3 separate regions of the Homo sapiens genome follow, and regions 1 and 3 are each linked to region 2. Evidence: promoter capture Hi-C in human tissues and cell types (Jung and others, 2019). All regions are on one chromosome and are shown on one strand. The core of a region is centred on a gene start or on the middle of the fragment in contact, and the rest is flanking DNA. Distances in the headings are between cores, read along the strand shown. Region 1 overlaps ZNF594-DT (ZNF594 divergent transcript). Region 2 holds the start of SHPK (sedoheptulokinase). Region 3 overlaps NUP88 (nucleoporin 88).

Region 1 (4,496 bases), core at 727-3,226, 1.6 Mb before region 2:
TTAGTCCATTTGGTCTACTATAACAAAATTCCTTAGACTGGATAATTTGTTAAAAACAGAAATGTTGCTGAGAGTTCTGGAGGCTGGGGAGTCCAAGATCAAGGCGCCAGCAGATTTGGTGTTTGGTGAGGGCTCACTCTGTGCTTCACACCTTCTCACCGTGTCTTCACATGATAGAAGGGGAAGACAGCTTTCTGGGGCCTCTTTTATATTATTTTATTTTTTGAGACAGAGTCTTACTTTGTCACCCAGGCTGGAGTGCAGCAGCACAATCATAGCTCACTGCAGCCTCAAACTCCTGGGTTCAGGTGATCCTCTCACCTCAGCCTCCTGAGTAGCTGGAACTACAGGCACATGCCACCACACCTGGCTGTTTTTTTTTTTTTTTTTTTGAGACGGAGTCTTGCTCTGTCGCCCAGTCTGGAGTGCAGTGGCATGATCTCAGCTCACTGCAAGCTCCACCTCCTGGGTTCACACCATTCTCCTGCTTCAGCCGCCCAAGTAGCTGGGACTACAGGCACCTGCCACCACAACTGGATAATTTTTTTGCATTTTTTTAGTAGAGACAGGGTTTCACCATGTTAGCCAGGATGGTCCTGATCTCCTGACCTCATGATCCACCTGCCTCGGCCTCCCAAAATGCTGGGATTACAGGCATGAGTCACCGCGCCCGGCCTATTTTTTTTCTTTCTTTCTTCCTTTTTTTTGGTAAAGATGGAGTCTCACTATGTTGCCCAGGCTGGTCTTGAACTCCTGGACTCAAATAATCCTCTTGTCTCAGCCTCCCTAAATGCTGGGATTACAGGTATGAGCCACCGCACCCAGCCTGGGTCCTCTTTCATAAGGGCATTCATCCCATTCATGAGGGCAGGGCCCTCATGATCTAATCACCCCAAACACCCTGCTTCTTAATACCATCATCTTGGGGGTTAGATTTCAACATACGAATTCTGTGGGGACACAAACATAGACCATAGCATTCTGCCCATGACCTCACAAAATCCATGTCCTTCTCAAATGCAAAATAGATTTATTCCATCCCAATAGCCCTAAAAGTCTTAACTCATTCCAATAACAGCTTTAAAGTCTAAGTCAACATCTCAACTAAATGTTGACTCATTCCAAGTCTGGGCAAAAGTCAAGATATGATTCATCCTGAGGCAAATTGCTCTCCAATTATGAGCCTGTGAAATCAAACTACTTATACAATGTAAGTATGCTTCCAAAATACAATGGTGGGACTGACATAGGATAGAAATTTCCATTCCAAAAGGGAGAAATAGGAAAGAAGAAAGGGGTGATGGGTCCCAAGTAAGTCCGAAACTCAACATGGCAAACAACATTAAGTCTTAAGGTTTGAGAATAATGTTTGACTTGACGTCCTACCCCCCAGATATTGGGATGGGGGTTGGGCCTCCAAGACTCGGGGCGGCCCCCCCATGGCTTTGCTGGGCACAGCCCACTCTGCAGCTTTCATGAGTTGGAGTCTCGGACCTGCAGCTTTCCCAGGCTGGAGTTGCACGCTGGTGGCCCTAACATTCTGGGGTCTTGGAGGCACCCCCGTCCCCATGGCTGTGCTGGGCATTGCCCTAGTGGGGGCTCTCCGCAGTGGCCCTGCCCCTTTGGCGGTGCTCCGTCTGGGCCTCAAGATTCCCCCAGGAATCCTTTGAAATCTAGGTAGAGGTAGCAATGCCCTCACAGCCCATGCACTTTGCGCAGCTGTGGAGATAAAACTGCTTGGACACCACCATGCTTTACTGTCTATGCCTCCCAGAGGGATGGCCTGAGTCACAGCTGGGCCCACTTGAGTCACAGCTAGGGTATGCCAGGAGCCCTGCACCAGAATGCAGGGAGCAGAGCCTTGAAATCGCTTTGACTTCAAGGTCCTAGTTTTCTGGGCCTGTGATGGGCAGGGCAGCCTCTAAAGATCTTCGGAATGGTTTCAGGGTCCTTCTTCGCTGTGATGCTGAGCATCTGGCTTCCATCTCCCCACACTAACCTCCTTATCAAAAGTTTCCTTGGTCACATTCTTGGTGTTTTCTCTTCAACAAGCTTTTTCATTCTTTACAACATGGGCAGGTTGGTAAATTTCTAAATATTTAAATTCTGCTGCTTTTTAAATCATAAATAACATCTTTGGCCGGGGGCGGTGGCTCATGCCTGTCATCCCAGCATTTTGGGAGGCTGAGAAGGGCACATCGCCTGAGGTTAGAAGTTCGAGACCAGCCTGGCTAACATGGTGAAACCCCGTCTCTACTAAAAATACAGAATTAGCCAGGCGTCGTGGCACAAACCTGTAATCCCAGCTACTCAGGAGGCTGAGGCAGGAGAATCACTTGAACCCAGGAGGTGGAGGTTGCAGTGAGCCAAGATCGCGCCACTGCACTCCAGCCTGGGCAAAAAGAGCAAAACTCTGTCTCAGAAAGAAAGAGAGAGAGAGAGAGAAAGAGAGAGAGAGAGAGAAAGAGAAAGAAAGACCATCTTTAATTGGTTTCTCTCTGCTAGCATTTTACTACAGGCATTCAAGAGAAGCTTTGCCGCACTCTCAACACTTTACTCAGATATTTTTTCCACCGAATATCCTATTTCATCACTCAGAATTTCTACCTTCCATAAAACACTAGGACATACAATTCAGCCACATTCTTTGCCAGATAATCAGGATCATTTTTCTGCCAGTTTCCAATAACATGTTCTTCATTTCCATCTGAGACCTCATCAGAATGGCCTTTAACATCCATACTTCTACTAGCCTTCTGGTACAACCTCTTAGGTAATCTCTAAGAAAACTGAGGCTTTCTCTGTAGCTCTCCTCTTCTTCTGAGCCCTCACCAGAATCACCCTTCACAATCTATTTACAACAATACAGGCTTATTTTGTGTGTGAGACAGAGCCTCATTCTGTCACCCAGGCTGAGAGTGTAGTGGCTCGATCTCAGCTCACTGCAACCTCCGCCTCCCAGGTTCAAGCGATTATCTTGCCTCAGCCTCCCAAGTAGCTGGGATTACAGGTGCCCACCACCACACCTGGCTAATCGTTGTATTTTAGTAGAGATGGGGTTTCACTATGTTGGCCAGCCTGGTCTTGAGCTCCTGACCTCAAGCAATCCACCTGCCCTGGCCTCCCAAAGTGCTGAGATTACAGGCATGAGCCACCGCGCCCAGCCAATTTTGACTCTTTAAAGAGATTCAAATAATCTCTTAAGTCAGTAGTCCAAAAGGCTACGACCAACAATTTTGGTTTATCTTCCCGTTGAAAGGATCCTCCATACAGAACTCCACATCCAAACCTATTCATGCTGTATCAACAACTTTAGAACCCAGTAACTCCAGGAGTCTGGTTATTATGACAAATGAATACAGTGGACCATCTCTTCTGCCGAGGCGACAGTTCCCTCATTTAACCCCACTAATAGCTAGATAATCCCCTAAAGACAGATTTAAAAAAAAATTTCTTGCCGGGCGCCATGGCTCACGCCTGTAATCCCAGTACTTTGGGAGGCTGAGGCGGATCATAAGGTCAGGAGATCGAAACCATCCTGGCCAAGATGATGAAACCCCGTCTCTACTAAAAATACAAAAATTAGCTGGCGTGGTTGTGCGCACCTGTAGTCCCAGCTACTCGGGAGGCTGAGGCAGGAGAATCGCTTGAACCTGGGAGATGGATGTTGCAGTGAGCTGAGATTGTGCCACTGCACTCTGGCCTGGCGAAAGAGCAAGACTGTATCTCAAAAACAAACAAACACAATTTCCATTTGTTTTTGTGATGTATGTTGCATCATAGTACTATTTCTGCGTGAACATGTCTCCTGAATTGGAGTTTGCTTCTGTTTATAACCTATTCCATCTGCTTTCCCTGAGTGCACATGTGTGTGCTCTGCCATGGCTAAGCGGCAGAATGGAATCTCACTTAAATTAACAGTTGATTGCCAAACACCCTCCAGCATAAATAGGTAACCGTTGACTGTGGTCGCATTTCATTTTACTGGAGCAGAGTGTACATACAACTATGTGCCAAACTACTGTCAGAAACAGCCAATTAATATCGCTGCACCCTTCCCCTTCAACTGTAAAACTCAACCTCTCATATTGACCAACGTATTTCTTTTTTTCTAGCTGGGATTATAGGCTCCCACCACCACGTCCGGCTAATTTTTGTATTTTTAGTAGAGATCGGGTTTCGCCATATTGGTCAGGCTGGTCTCGAACTCCTGACCTCAGGTGATCCACCTGTCTCGGCCTCACAAAGTGTTAGGATTACAGGCATGAGCCACTGCGCCCAGCCTGATCAACATATTCCATTGCCAAAATTTAATGCCATTAAAGTTTTAGATCAGCTACACTTGAACAATTAAATATTCTATGAATAATTTTAAAAAGCCCTAAACTGGTAAAAATAAACTCTCATTTACAAAGTGAACTATAAACTAACAGCCTTTAAGTTGTTTTAACACTAGATCCCTCTGTATTTTTTTTTTTTTTTTTACAAATTAGGTG
Region 2 (4,166 bases), core at 1,620-4,119:
GTGGAGACATCCCTGTTCCCACTCTGATTTCAGTTTCCCCAAGGCCTCCAGCATCTCCGGACATCTCCCTTACACACTCCTCAAGAAGTCTCCCTGGCTGCTCCAGCTGTCTGACCTCTGTTGGCCCGTCTCCTCCAGGGTTCTCTCTTTGCCTGCTGCAGGTCTGCCTCATCTGAGACCCTTCTCACCGGCCGGGAATGACCCCGTACCTACTCTCTGGCCTCCTCTGGGGGCCTTGCTCTTGGCGCTGGATCCCTGTGCTCTGTCCCCTGACCTTGGAGGAATTGCCCTCCTGCGTGTATGGAATGACCACAGGCCTCCCTCTCACTCTTGCTGCCCTCCGCTCCTCACACCTGCCCTGTGGCCTCAAGTTCAGGATTCAGTTTGTTGCCCAGGACAGAGTCTGGTTTTTCTCCAGAAATTAGATGCAGAATCAGGCCTAACCAGCTTCTCAAACTCACAGACTTGGTCAGCAAACATTCCCAAGCCTCAAAGGCTGAGACCCCTGGAGGAACGATGCCAGCAGAGACAAAACGACATTGAGAGGTAAGTCAATTAAAATGTTAAAAAACATCAGATTAGGCTGAGCGCAGTGGCTCGTGTGTGTAATTCCAGCACTTTGGGAGGCCGAGGCAGTTGGATCACTTGAAGTCAGGAGTTCGAGACCAGCCTGGCCAACATGGTGAATCCCCGTCTCTACTAAAAATACAAAAATTAGCCAGGCGTGGTGGCATGTGCCTGTAGTCCCAGCTACTCAGGAGGCTGAGGCAGGAGAATCGCTTGAACCCGGGAGGTGGAGGTTGCAGTGAGCCGAGATTGCACCATTGCACTCCAGCCTGAGTGATAAGAGTGAAACTCCGTCTCAAATTAAAAAAAAAAAACAAAAAAAAAACCAGATTGATAATTACATACAACTAGTGGCTTGTGAAAGCTACAAGATAGAAATGAAGTATCTCCTGACAATGGGCTCTGTCTGGCGTGCCCTTCCTATGTAAGTTCTAACTATTGTCCAGGCCTCATTCAGATGTCACATGTTTCAAGAAGGCTCCTCACCCATTCAGTCCCTTCCCAGGAGCAACCTGGGGCTAGGGGTCTAGTGTGGCAGCTCCTGTCTGCCAGGTATGAGTTGGTCCTGTCCTCTGTTCTACGACCTGGAACTCCCTGGGTCTCCTGCTTTTGGAGAGGGTACACAAATAGTGGCAAGGGCTGTGTGCACTGGAGACAGGCTTGACCTATTTATTACTTATGCGACCTTGTGGTGCCAAACAAGGAGGTGGTAACTACCTCACAGGACTTAAATGAGGAGATGTAAAGCACGCATTGTCAAGTGGGACTAAAATTGGCTGGGGGTAGGCTGGGCGCGGTGGCTCACGCCTGTCATCCCAGCACTTTGGGAGGCCGAGGTGAGCGCATCACCTGAGGTCAGGAGTTCGAGACCAGCCTGGCCAACATGGTGAATCCCCATCTCTACTAAAAATACAAAAATTAGCTGGGCATGGTGGCTCAGGCCTGTAGTCCCAGCTACTCGGAAGGCTGAGGTAGGAGAATCGCTTGAACCCCGGAGGCGGAGGTTGCAGTGAGCCGAGATCGCGCCACTGCACTCCAGCCTGGGTGACAGAGGCTGCAGACTCCATCTCAAAAAAAAAAAAAAAATTGGCTTGGGGTGGTAGTGAAGAAATCTAGCTATTACAATGGTTTGTGGCCACAGAAACAAATACACAGCGTACTAGTGGTATTAAATTTTATGGGAAGGGGGTAGGTAGGAATAACGAGGTTGAGAAACAAGGATATAAAGTGGTTACCTCTGTTGCTTAGGGCGCCTAGCGAGCTCTCACAAAACACAGTAATCCTCAATGTTACTGGAAGAGGCAGAGCTCAGGAGTCCTCCCTTCGCCCAGTGTGAAAACCCGGAGGGGAGGATGGGGTCTCGTGCTGCTCAGTCCCCCGGAGCCCCGCACTCCGCACGTCAACCGGCGCTCTCGCAAAGGTTCTCTCAGCGTCTCCAAAGCAATCTGCAAATTCCCCAACCGAGACCCAGGCGGCAACTGAGCAGAAGGTAAGGGGCTGGGAACGGCACCCACCCCGGCAGCCCGCTGCCCCTGCCTCGGCTGACCACCGCTCGGGCCCTTCCACCCGGGGGTTGTCCCGTGTCGCGAGGCCAGCACTGGTGGCGGGGAAAGGAGCCCGCCGCGGCTGAGGGCGCTGGACCCCCGGCAGGCTGCCCCGCTGACCTGCTGTGCCTCAAGGGGTCCGCCTGGGAAACAGGGGAGGCCGCGTCCGCTCTCACCTGAGCGCCCCCAGGCTCGAGGAACCGCCCTCACGGGACGCATGAGCCTCGCCAGGTGCCGGTCAGGAATGCACCGCGTTCCCCTGCCCGGCTAGACTTTGGGAGAGGCGGGTCCGCTGTCACCTGACCTCCGCCACCTGACTCGTGGGGCCGGATCTCGGCGAGATGAGCTCTGGGAGTTGTAGTTTCCGCGCGTCTTAGACGGACAGAGCGCAGCTGGGTCGGGCCGGGGCGCAGAGATCGGGGCTCCGGCGTGAGGGAAGATGAGGTCCGCTGCCAGGGACACAGAGACTCTTGGAGCCGCCAGCGCCTCCCGGCTCCTTTCGTGAGCGAAGCTCAGACCGCCCTCCATTGGGCGGAAATCAGAGCCCGTGGGGCGGGGCCCCCTTTAGGTCCCGCCTTCCGCCGCCTCTCCGCCTATAGCCGGGGCCCGCCGAGAGGTTGCGTGGAAGCTCGCCTTCCCCGGCCAGTGGGAAGACGAGAAGCCTCCATGTTGGGTGTGGCTGAAAGATTGGCAGGCGACTCCCCGCCCCTGCCCCGCCCCCCTGGGCGAAGAGCGCGGACTTGTGGGGCCGCTGGCTGCAGACTGGAGCTGCGCGGGTCAGGGAGATAATGGCTGCGCGGCCGATCACCCTCGGCATTGACCTGGGCACCACATCTGTGAAGGCAGCTCTGCTGAGGGCCGCGCCCGACGACCCATCCGGGTTCGCAGTGCTGGCGAGCTGTGCCCGTGCTGCGCGGGCAGAGGCGGCGGTCGAGAGCGCGGTGGCCGGGCCCCAGGTGAGTTGGACCCCCGGGGCCGCGCCGCCTCCAGGAGCCTCCTGACCACCCTTTTCCACCCCAGGAGGCCTCCCTGACAGCCCTTCCCGCAATGAAGTCTCTATTCCAGCTTGTCCCCAGCTTCTCCAGGGGCCCGTCTGCCTGCAGCAGCTGTGCTCATGATCCCTTAGGTCTGGTCCCAGAATCCTTCCCACCTGCTGGGACCGATTCCCCCCCGCCCCCTCCCCGACTCTCTGGCTTCTTCTGGGGGCCTTGCGCTTGGCGCTGGATCCCTGTGCTCTCTGTCCCCTGACCTTGGAGGAACTGATCTCTTGTGTGTATGGAATGACCACAGGCCTCCCTTTCACTCTTGCTGCTCTCCGCTCCTCACACCTGCCCTGTGACCTCAAGTTCAGGATTCAGTTTGTTGCCCAGGGCAGAGTCTGGGTTTTCCTCCGGAAATCAGATGTCAAATCAGGCCTAACTGGCTCCTGGCTCATTCCACAGAAGCAGAATGCGGACCAAGAAACCTTTGGTCAGCCGGGCGCGGTGGCTCACGCCTGTAATCCCAGCGCTTTGGGAGGCCGAGGCGGGCGGATCACGAGGTCAGGAGATCGAGACCATCCTGGCTAACACGGTGAAACCCCGTCTGTACTAAAAATACAAAAAATTAGCGGGGCGTGGTGGCGGGCGCCTGTAGTCCCAGCTACTCGGGAGGCTGAGGCAGGAGAATGGCGCGAACCCGGGAGGCGGAGCTTGCAGTGAGTCGAGATCGCTCCGTTGCACTCCAGCCTGGGTGACAGAGCGAGACTCCTTCCCTTCCTTCCCTTCCTTCCTTCCTTCCTTCCTTCCTTCCTTCCTTCCTTCCTTCCTTCCTTCATTCTTTCCTTTCTTTCTCTTTCTTACCAAGTCTCGCTCTGTTGCCCAGGCTGGAGTACAGTGGCGTGATCTGGGCTCACTGCAACCTCCGCCAACTGGATTCAAGTGATTCTCCTGCTTCAGCCTCCCGAGTAGCTGGGACTACAGGTGTGAGCCACCGCGCCCGGCTACTTTTTGTATTTTTAGTAGAGACAGGGTTTCGCCATGTTCGCCAGACTGGTCTTGAACTCCTGACCTCAAG
Region 3 (4,352 bases), core at 799-3,298, 1.8 Mb before region 2:
CGCAACTTATAAGTTGAGTCCCCTTAAACTGTTTACCTTCTAAATCTGTTTCCTCATTTTAAAAATAGGATTGATAATATCTGCCCTTGTAATTTCCTTACAGGGTTAGTAAAAAGATCAAATGAGATACTATATCTGAAAACACTTGTACTGTATAAATATGTATCAATCCTAAGTCAAACCATCCTAAAATGTATATATACGTATGAAATATGCTATAATTTGGAGCCAGGCACGATGGCTCACACCTGTAATCCCAGCACTTTGGGAGGCCGAGGCAGGTGGATCACCTGAGCTCAGGAGCTTGAGACCACCCTGGGCAACATGGTGAAACCTCATTTCTACTAAAATACAAAAAATAAGTGGGGTGTGGTGGCACACGCCTGTAGTCCCAGCTACTCAGGAGGTTAAGGCACAAGTATTGATTAAATCCAGGAGGCGGAGGTTGCAGTGAGCAAAGATCACGCCACTGCACTCCAGCTTGGGCCACAGAGTGAGACTTCATCTCAAATAAATAAACAAATAAAATTTAAATAAATAATTTAAATTATTAAAATAAATAAATTATTTATTTATTTTGAGACAGAGTCTGGCTCTGTAGCCCAAGCTGGAGTGCAGTGGCGTGATCTCAGCTCACTGCAACCTCCTCAGCCCGGGCTGGAGTGCAGTGGCACAAGCTCAGCTCACTGCAGCCTCCACCTCCTGGGTTCCAGCGATTCTTCTGCCTCAGCCTCACGGGTAACGGGTTACAGGCATGTGCCACCACACTTGCCTAATTCTTGTATTTTTAGTGGAGACGGGGTTTTACCATGTTGGCCAGGCTGGTCTCAAACTCCTGACCTCAGGTGATCCACCTGCCTTGGCCTCCCAAAGTGCTAAGATAGGCGTGAGCCATTGCGCCCAGCCAGTGTGCTATAATTTAGAAGATATTTTTATTTCAATTCTTTGATATTGATTGAATAGATGCCTTGAATGTCCTCTCAGCATGATTTCAGGGAAATAAATCTGAAGGAAAGAGAATCAAAGAGTGTTAAAATAGAAATTTCTTCAGGGCCTGGCGTGGTGGCTCATGCCTGTAATCCCAGCACTTTGCGAGGCCGAGGTGGGCAGATCACCTGAGGTCGGGAGTTTGAGACCAGCCTGACCAACATGGAGAAACCCCCTCTCTACTGAAAATACAAAGTTCGCTGGGCGAGGTGGCAGGTGCCTGTAATCCCAGCTACTTGAAAGACTGAGGCAGGAGAATCACTTGAACCTGGGAGGCGGAGGTTGCAGTGAGCCGAGATTGTGCCGTTACACTCCAGCCTGGGCAACAAGAGAGAAACTCCATCTGCAAAAAAAAGAAGTTCCTTTAGAAGATTTTCATCCAAGTTGTACAAAATGTTTTGGAAAATTATTATCTTTATTTTAGTACCACTCCAGTTGCGGAGAGATTTTTCACCAGTTCCACCTCTCTGACTCTAAAGCATGCTGCATGGTATCCAAGTGAAATCCTGGATCCCCACGTAGTGCTGTTAACATCAGACAACGTAATCAGGTAAATTTTATTTCTCTCTCTTGAAGCCTTGCGAGTGGGAAAGCTCTGTTTCTGTTTGCCAATTAACAGCTCAACATAGAACGAAGTGAGTCATTGAATGAGTCAGTGCTTTTATTGGATGGCTGTTGTAACCCATTCTCAATCATAAGAATTGCCTAACTGCTCTAACTTACCACTATTCCTTCTCAACTAGTCTTCCTGCCTCCAGGTATCTCCTCTCCTAATCTGACACCTTAGAATAATCTTTCCAAAACTCTTTCATCATTGTCACCCTTTTGGTAATAATGTAGCATAAAGGAAAGAGAATGTAAGTGTAAATTTAGAGATTTGAATTATTGTCCCACCTCCTTTTCTGTTATCTTTGAGATCTTGAGCTTTTTAGGGGTTGGGGGGCTCAGTTTCCAATCTTTTAAATTGAGCAGGTTTGATTCAATAGTTTCTAACGCCCCTTCCAAGCTTTGCACTCTATGATTAAATGCCCTAATGCTACGTAGATTTCTACTCTATTATCAGCTAACTTTCTGGATCGGCCTTATGTAAAAAGTTATTGGGGGGACTCAGCAGAGGTACAGATACCTTCAGTTTTATTTTTCGTAATCACTGCTTTTAACTGTGCTCTACTAAATCTTCCTTCACTGCTGAATGACTCACCCCTTAATGATGTCTTATACAGATCCCCATAGCTTTCTCGTTACTTCTAGTTATGAAAACAGTGTGTCCAGTTTAAAACTCATCTTGGCTGGTTGCAGTGGCTCACACCTGTAATCCCAGCACTTTGGGAGGCCGAGGTGGGAGGATCATTTGAGCCCCTGAGTTCGAGACCAATGTGGGCAATACAGTGAGATCCTGTCTCTGCAAAAAAAATTAGCTGGGCATAATGGCATGTGCCGGTAGTCCCAGCTACTCAGGAGACTGAGGTAGGAAGATTGCAGCCTGGGTGACAGAGTAAAACCCTGTCTAAAGAAAATAAGAATGTCGAAAGCTATTTGATCTCAAATCTTTCACAACTATGTCCTGGCCCTTTTGTAGGTCAGACCTGTGTTTTGTGGGATCAGAAGTGATTGGAGAGTGTGCGGTCTGCTCTTTCACTCTTCCTGTTATCCCAGCACTTTGGAACATAGGGTGAAGTGTAAGGAATGGGCTGCCCCCTCCTTCCTCCAAATCTAACTCCTTCAGTGTGGGGTAGGGGAGTGGGACAGGTGAGGTAGAGATCTTACCGAACTGGTAGCCTGTGAGTGATGGGGAAGTATGCCTGATCTTGTTTGAATCTCGTTCCATCTGTCACTAGTGAACTCTGTTGATGTGGTAGTCTCTGCATAGATGGTGTGTTTGTGTGTGTGTATGTGGGGGGGTGGGGTGGTGTTGGAGGGCAGTGTTGAACTTCCAGCTCCCCCCATCACTGAGGAGCTCTGGCTCCCATTGGCTCCTGTCAGTTCTCTATGCCCTGAATCTTCTCTCAAGATGGGGTACAGTATACTTTATCTGCAGGGTGTGTGTTCCAAGACCCCCCAGTGAATGCCTGAAACTGTAGATAGTACTGAACGTGATACGTGTGTATTGCTATGTTTTTTCGATCTTATAACTGAGACAGCTACTAAGTGACTAAGGGGCATTCAGCTAGGAAATGCACCAGTCTCCCTTATTACAGGTACCTCCACATCTGGCTGTTTCCTAGAGCCTTCCCTGCCCACCCATTTGGCTTTAGAGTTCAGGGCAGAGAAAGAGGAGAGGGAAAATCTTCCCATTACAAACATTATACTGTACTCCTAAGGAATCTTTGACATCCTCTCTTCTTAGTCTTCCTTTTATATGCTATGATGGAAAAGGAGATGGTGGGAAGATAGCATAGGTACAGTTCTTAAGCCCCAAAGGAAGTATCTGGCCCCAAATATTGAAGGTTCTTTTTTAAAATATGTGGTATTTAACACTTCTGTTTTCCTAAGCTTTGGAGATTTTGGGCAGTTTCAGAGCAAAAGGAAATTTTCACCGAATGCCCTGTTGCACCTTCTTTTTCTTTCACTGTTCCCCAGTACAACATTATTGCCTAGTATTTATGTGTATTTTGAAGTTAGTAACGCTTGTAGGAACCTAGGAAGACTGTAATAAATGTGTATTCAAATGGATCAAGTTATCATTAAAAATTTATTAAATACTTAATGTGGCATTTTATTGATATTGGAAGAAACCAAGTTAAAAAATTCTTAGTGGCGTCAGACAAAATAAGTGATTATAAGGGACACTGGATTTCTAAAATGACATTACTGGCCTTTTGAAAATTCCCTTTTTCACAATAGCCTTATATGCTGTGAAATGTAGGTTACTTTAAATTAAAATAATTTTGGTTAAAAAAATTCAGTATTATACTTTCCCTTGAAAATAGAGATGATACGATACTGGGTTTGTTTGTTTGGTTTTTTTTTTTTTTTTTGAAATGGAGTCTCGCTCTGTCGCCCAGGCTGGAGTGCAGTGGCGTGATCTTGGCTCACTCCAGCCTCCAGCTCACCGCAACCTCCACCTCCCAGGTTCAAGTGATTCTCCTGCCTCAGCCTCCCGAGTAGCTGGGATTACAGGTGTGTGCCACCACACCCAAATAATTTTTGTATTTTTAGTAGAGACGGGGTTTCATCATGTTGGCCAGGCTGGTCACGAACTCCTGACCTCAAGTGATCTGCTCACCTCGGCCTCCCAAAGTGCTAGGATTACAGGTGTGAGCCACCGTGCTTGGCCAATATTGGGTTTTTATATAACAAACACATAAGTAGATTTGCAGGCTAAATATCACTCACTCTGTCAGCCAGTTGGCATATAAAGAATA

Evidence for each region. The method cuts DNA at HindIII sites, captures the fragments that hold promoters and counts their contacts. A contact is called where the count stands out against the background at its distance.
Region 1: a contact is called between a fragment that was not itself captured here and the fragment with the promoter of SHPK in region 2, in 2 of the 25 tissues and cell types used here (aorta and pancreas).
Region 3: a contact is called between a fragment that was not itself captured here and the fragment with the promoter of SHPK in region 2, in 1 of the 25 tissues and cell types used here (aorta).

What each region holds. Positions count from the first base shown.
Region 1 is chr17:5,200,688-5,205,183 of GRCh38, reverse strand. The region is part of intron 1 of ZNF594-DT (ZNF594 divergent transcript); the gene reads right to left. Among named protein-coding and RNA genes, the nearest start is that of ZNF594-DT, 11 kb to the right of the region's middle. The HindIII fragment of the contact is 6,214 bases long and covers 1-4,496 here.
Region 2 is chr17:3,634,953-3,639,118 of GRCh38, reverse strand. SHPK (sedoheptulokinase) reads left to right here and starts at 2,869. Exons shown (of 7, transcript NM_013276.4): 1 at 2,869-3,067. The coding sequence starts at 2,900. It overlaps CTNS (cystinosin, lysosomal cystine transporter), which reads right to left and starts at 2,359. Exons shown (of 12, transcript NM_004937.3): 1 at 2,288-2,359; 2 at 1,803-2,012. It overlaps LOC105371493 (a long non-coding RNA gene), which reads left to right. Exons shown (of 6, transcript XR_007065579.1): 6 at 34-622. RefSeq lists silencers at 1,994-2,083, 3,094-3,153 and an enhancer at 2,364-2,613. The HindIII fragment of the contact is 13,000 bases long and covers 1-4,166 here.
Region 3 is chr17:5,411,194-5,415,545 of GRCh38, reverse strand. It overlaps NUP88 (nucleoporin 88), which reads left to right. Exons shown (of 17, transcript NM_002532.6): 3 at 1,412-1,537. Among named protein-coding and RNA genes, the nearest start is that of NUP88, 6.3 kb to the left of the region's middle. RefSeq lists an enhancer at 1,043-2,242. The HindIII fragment of the contact is 3,817 bases long and covers 140-3,956 here.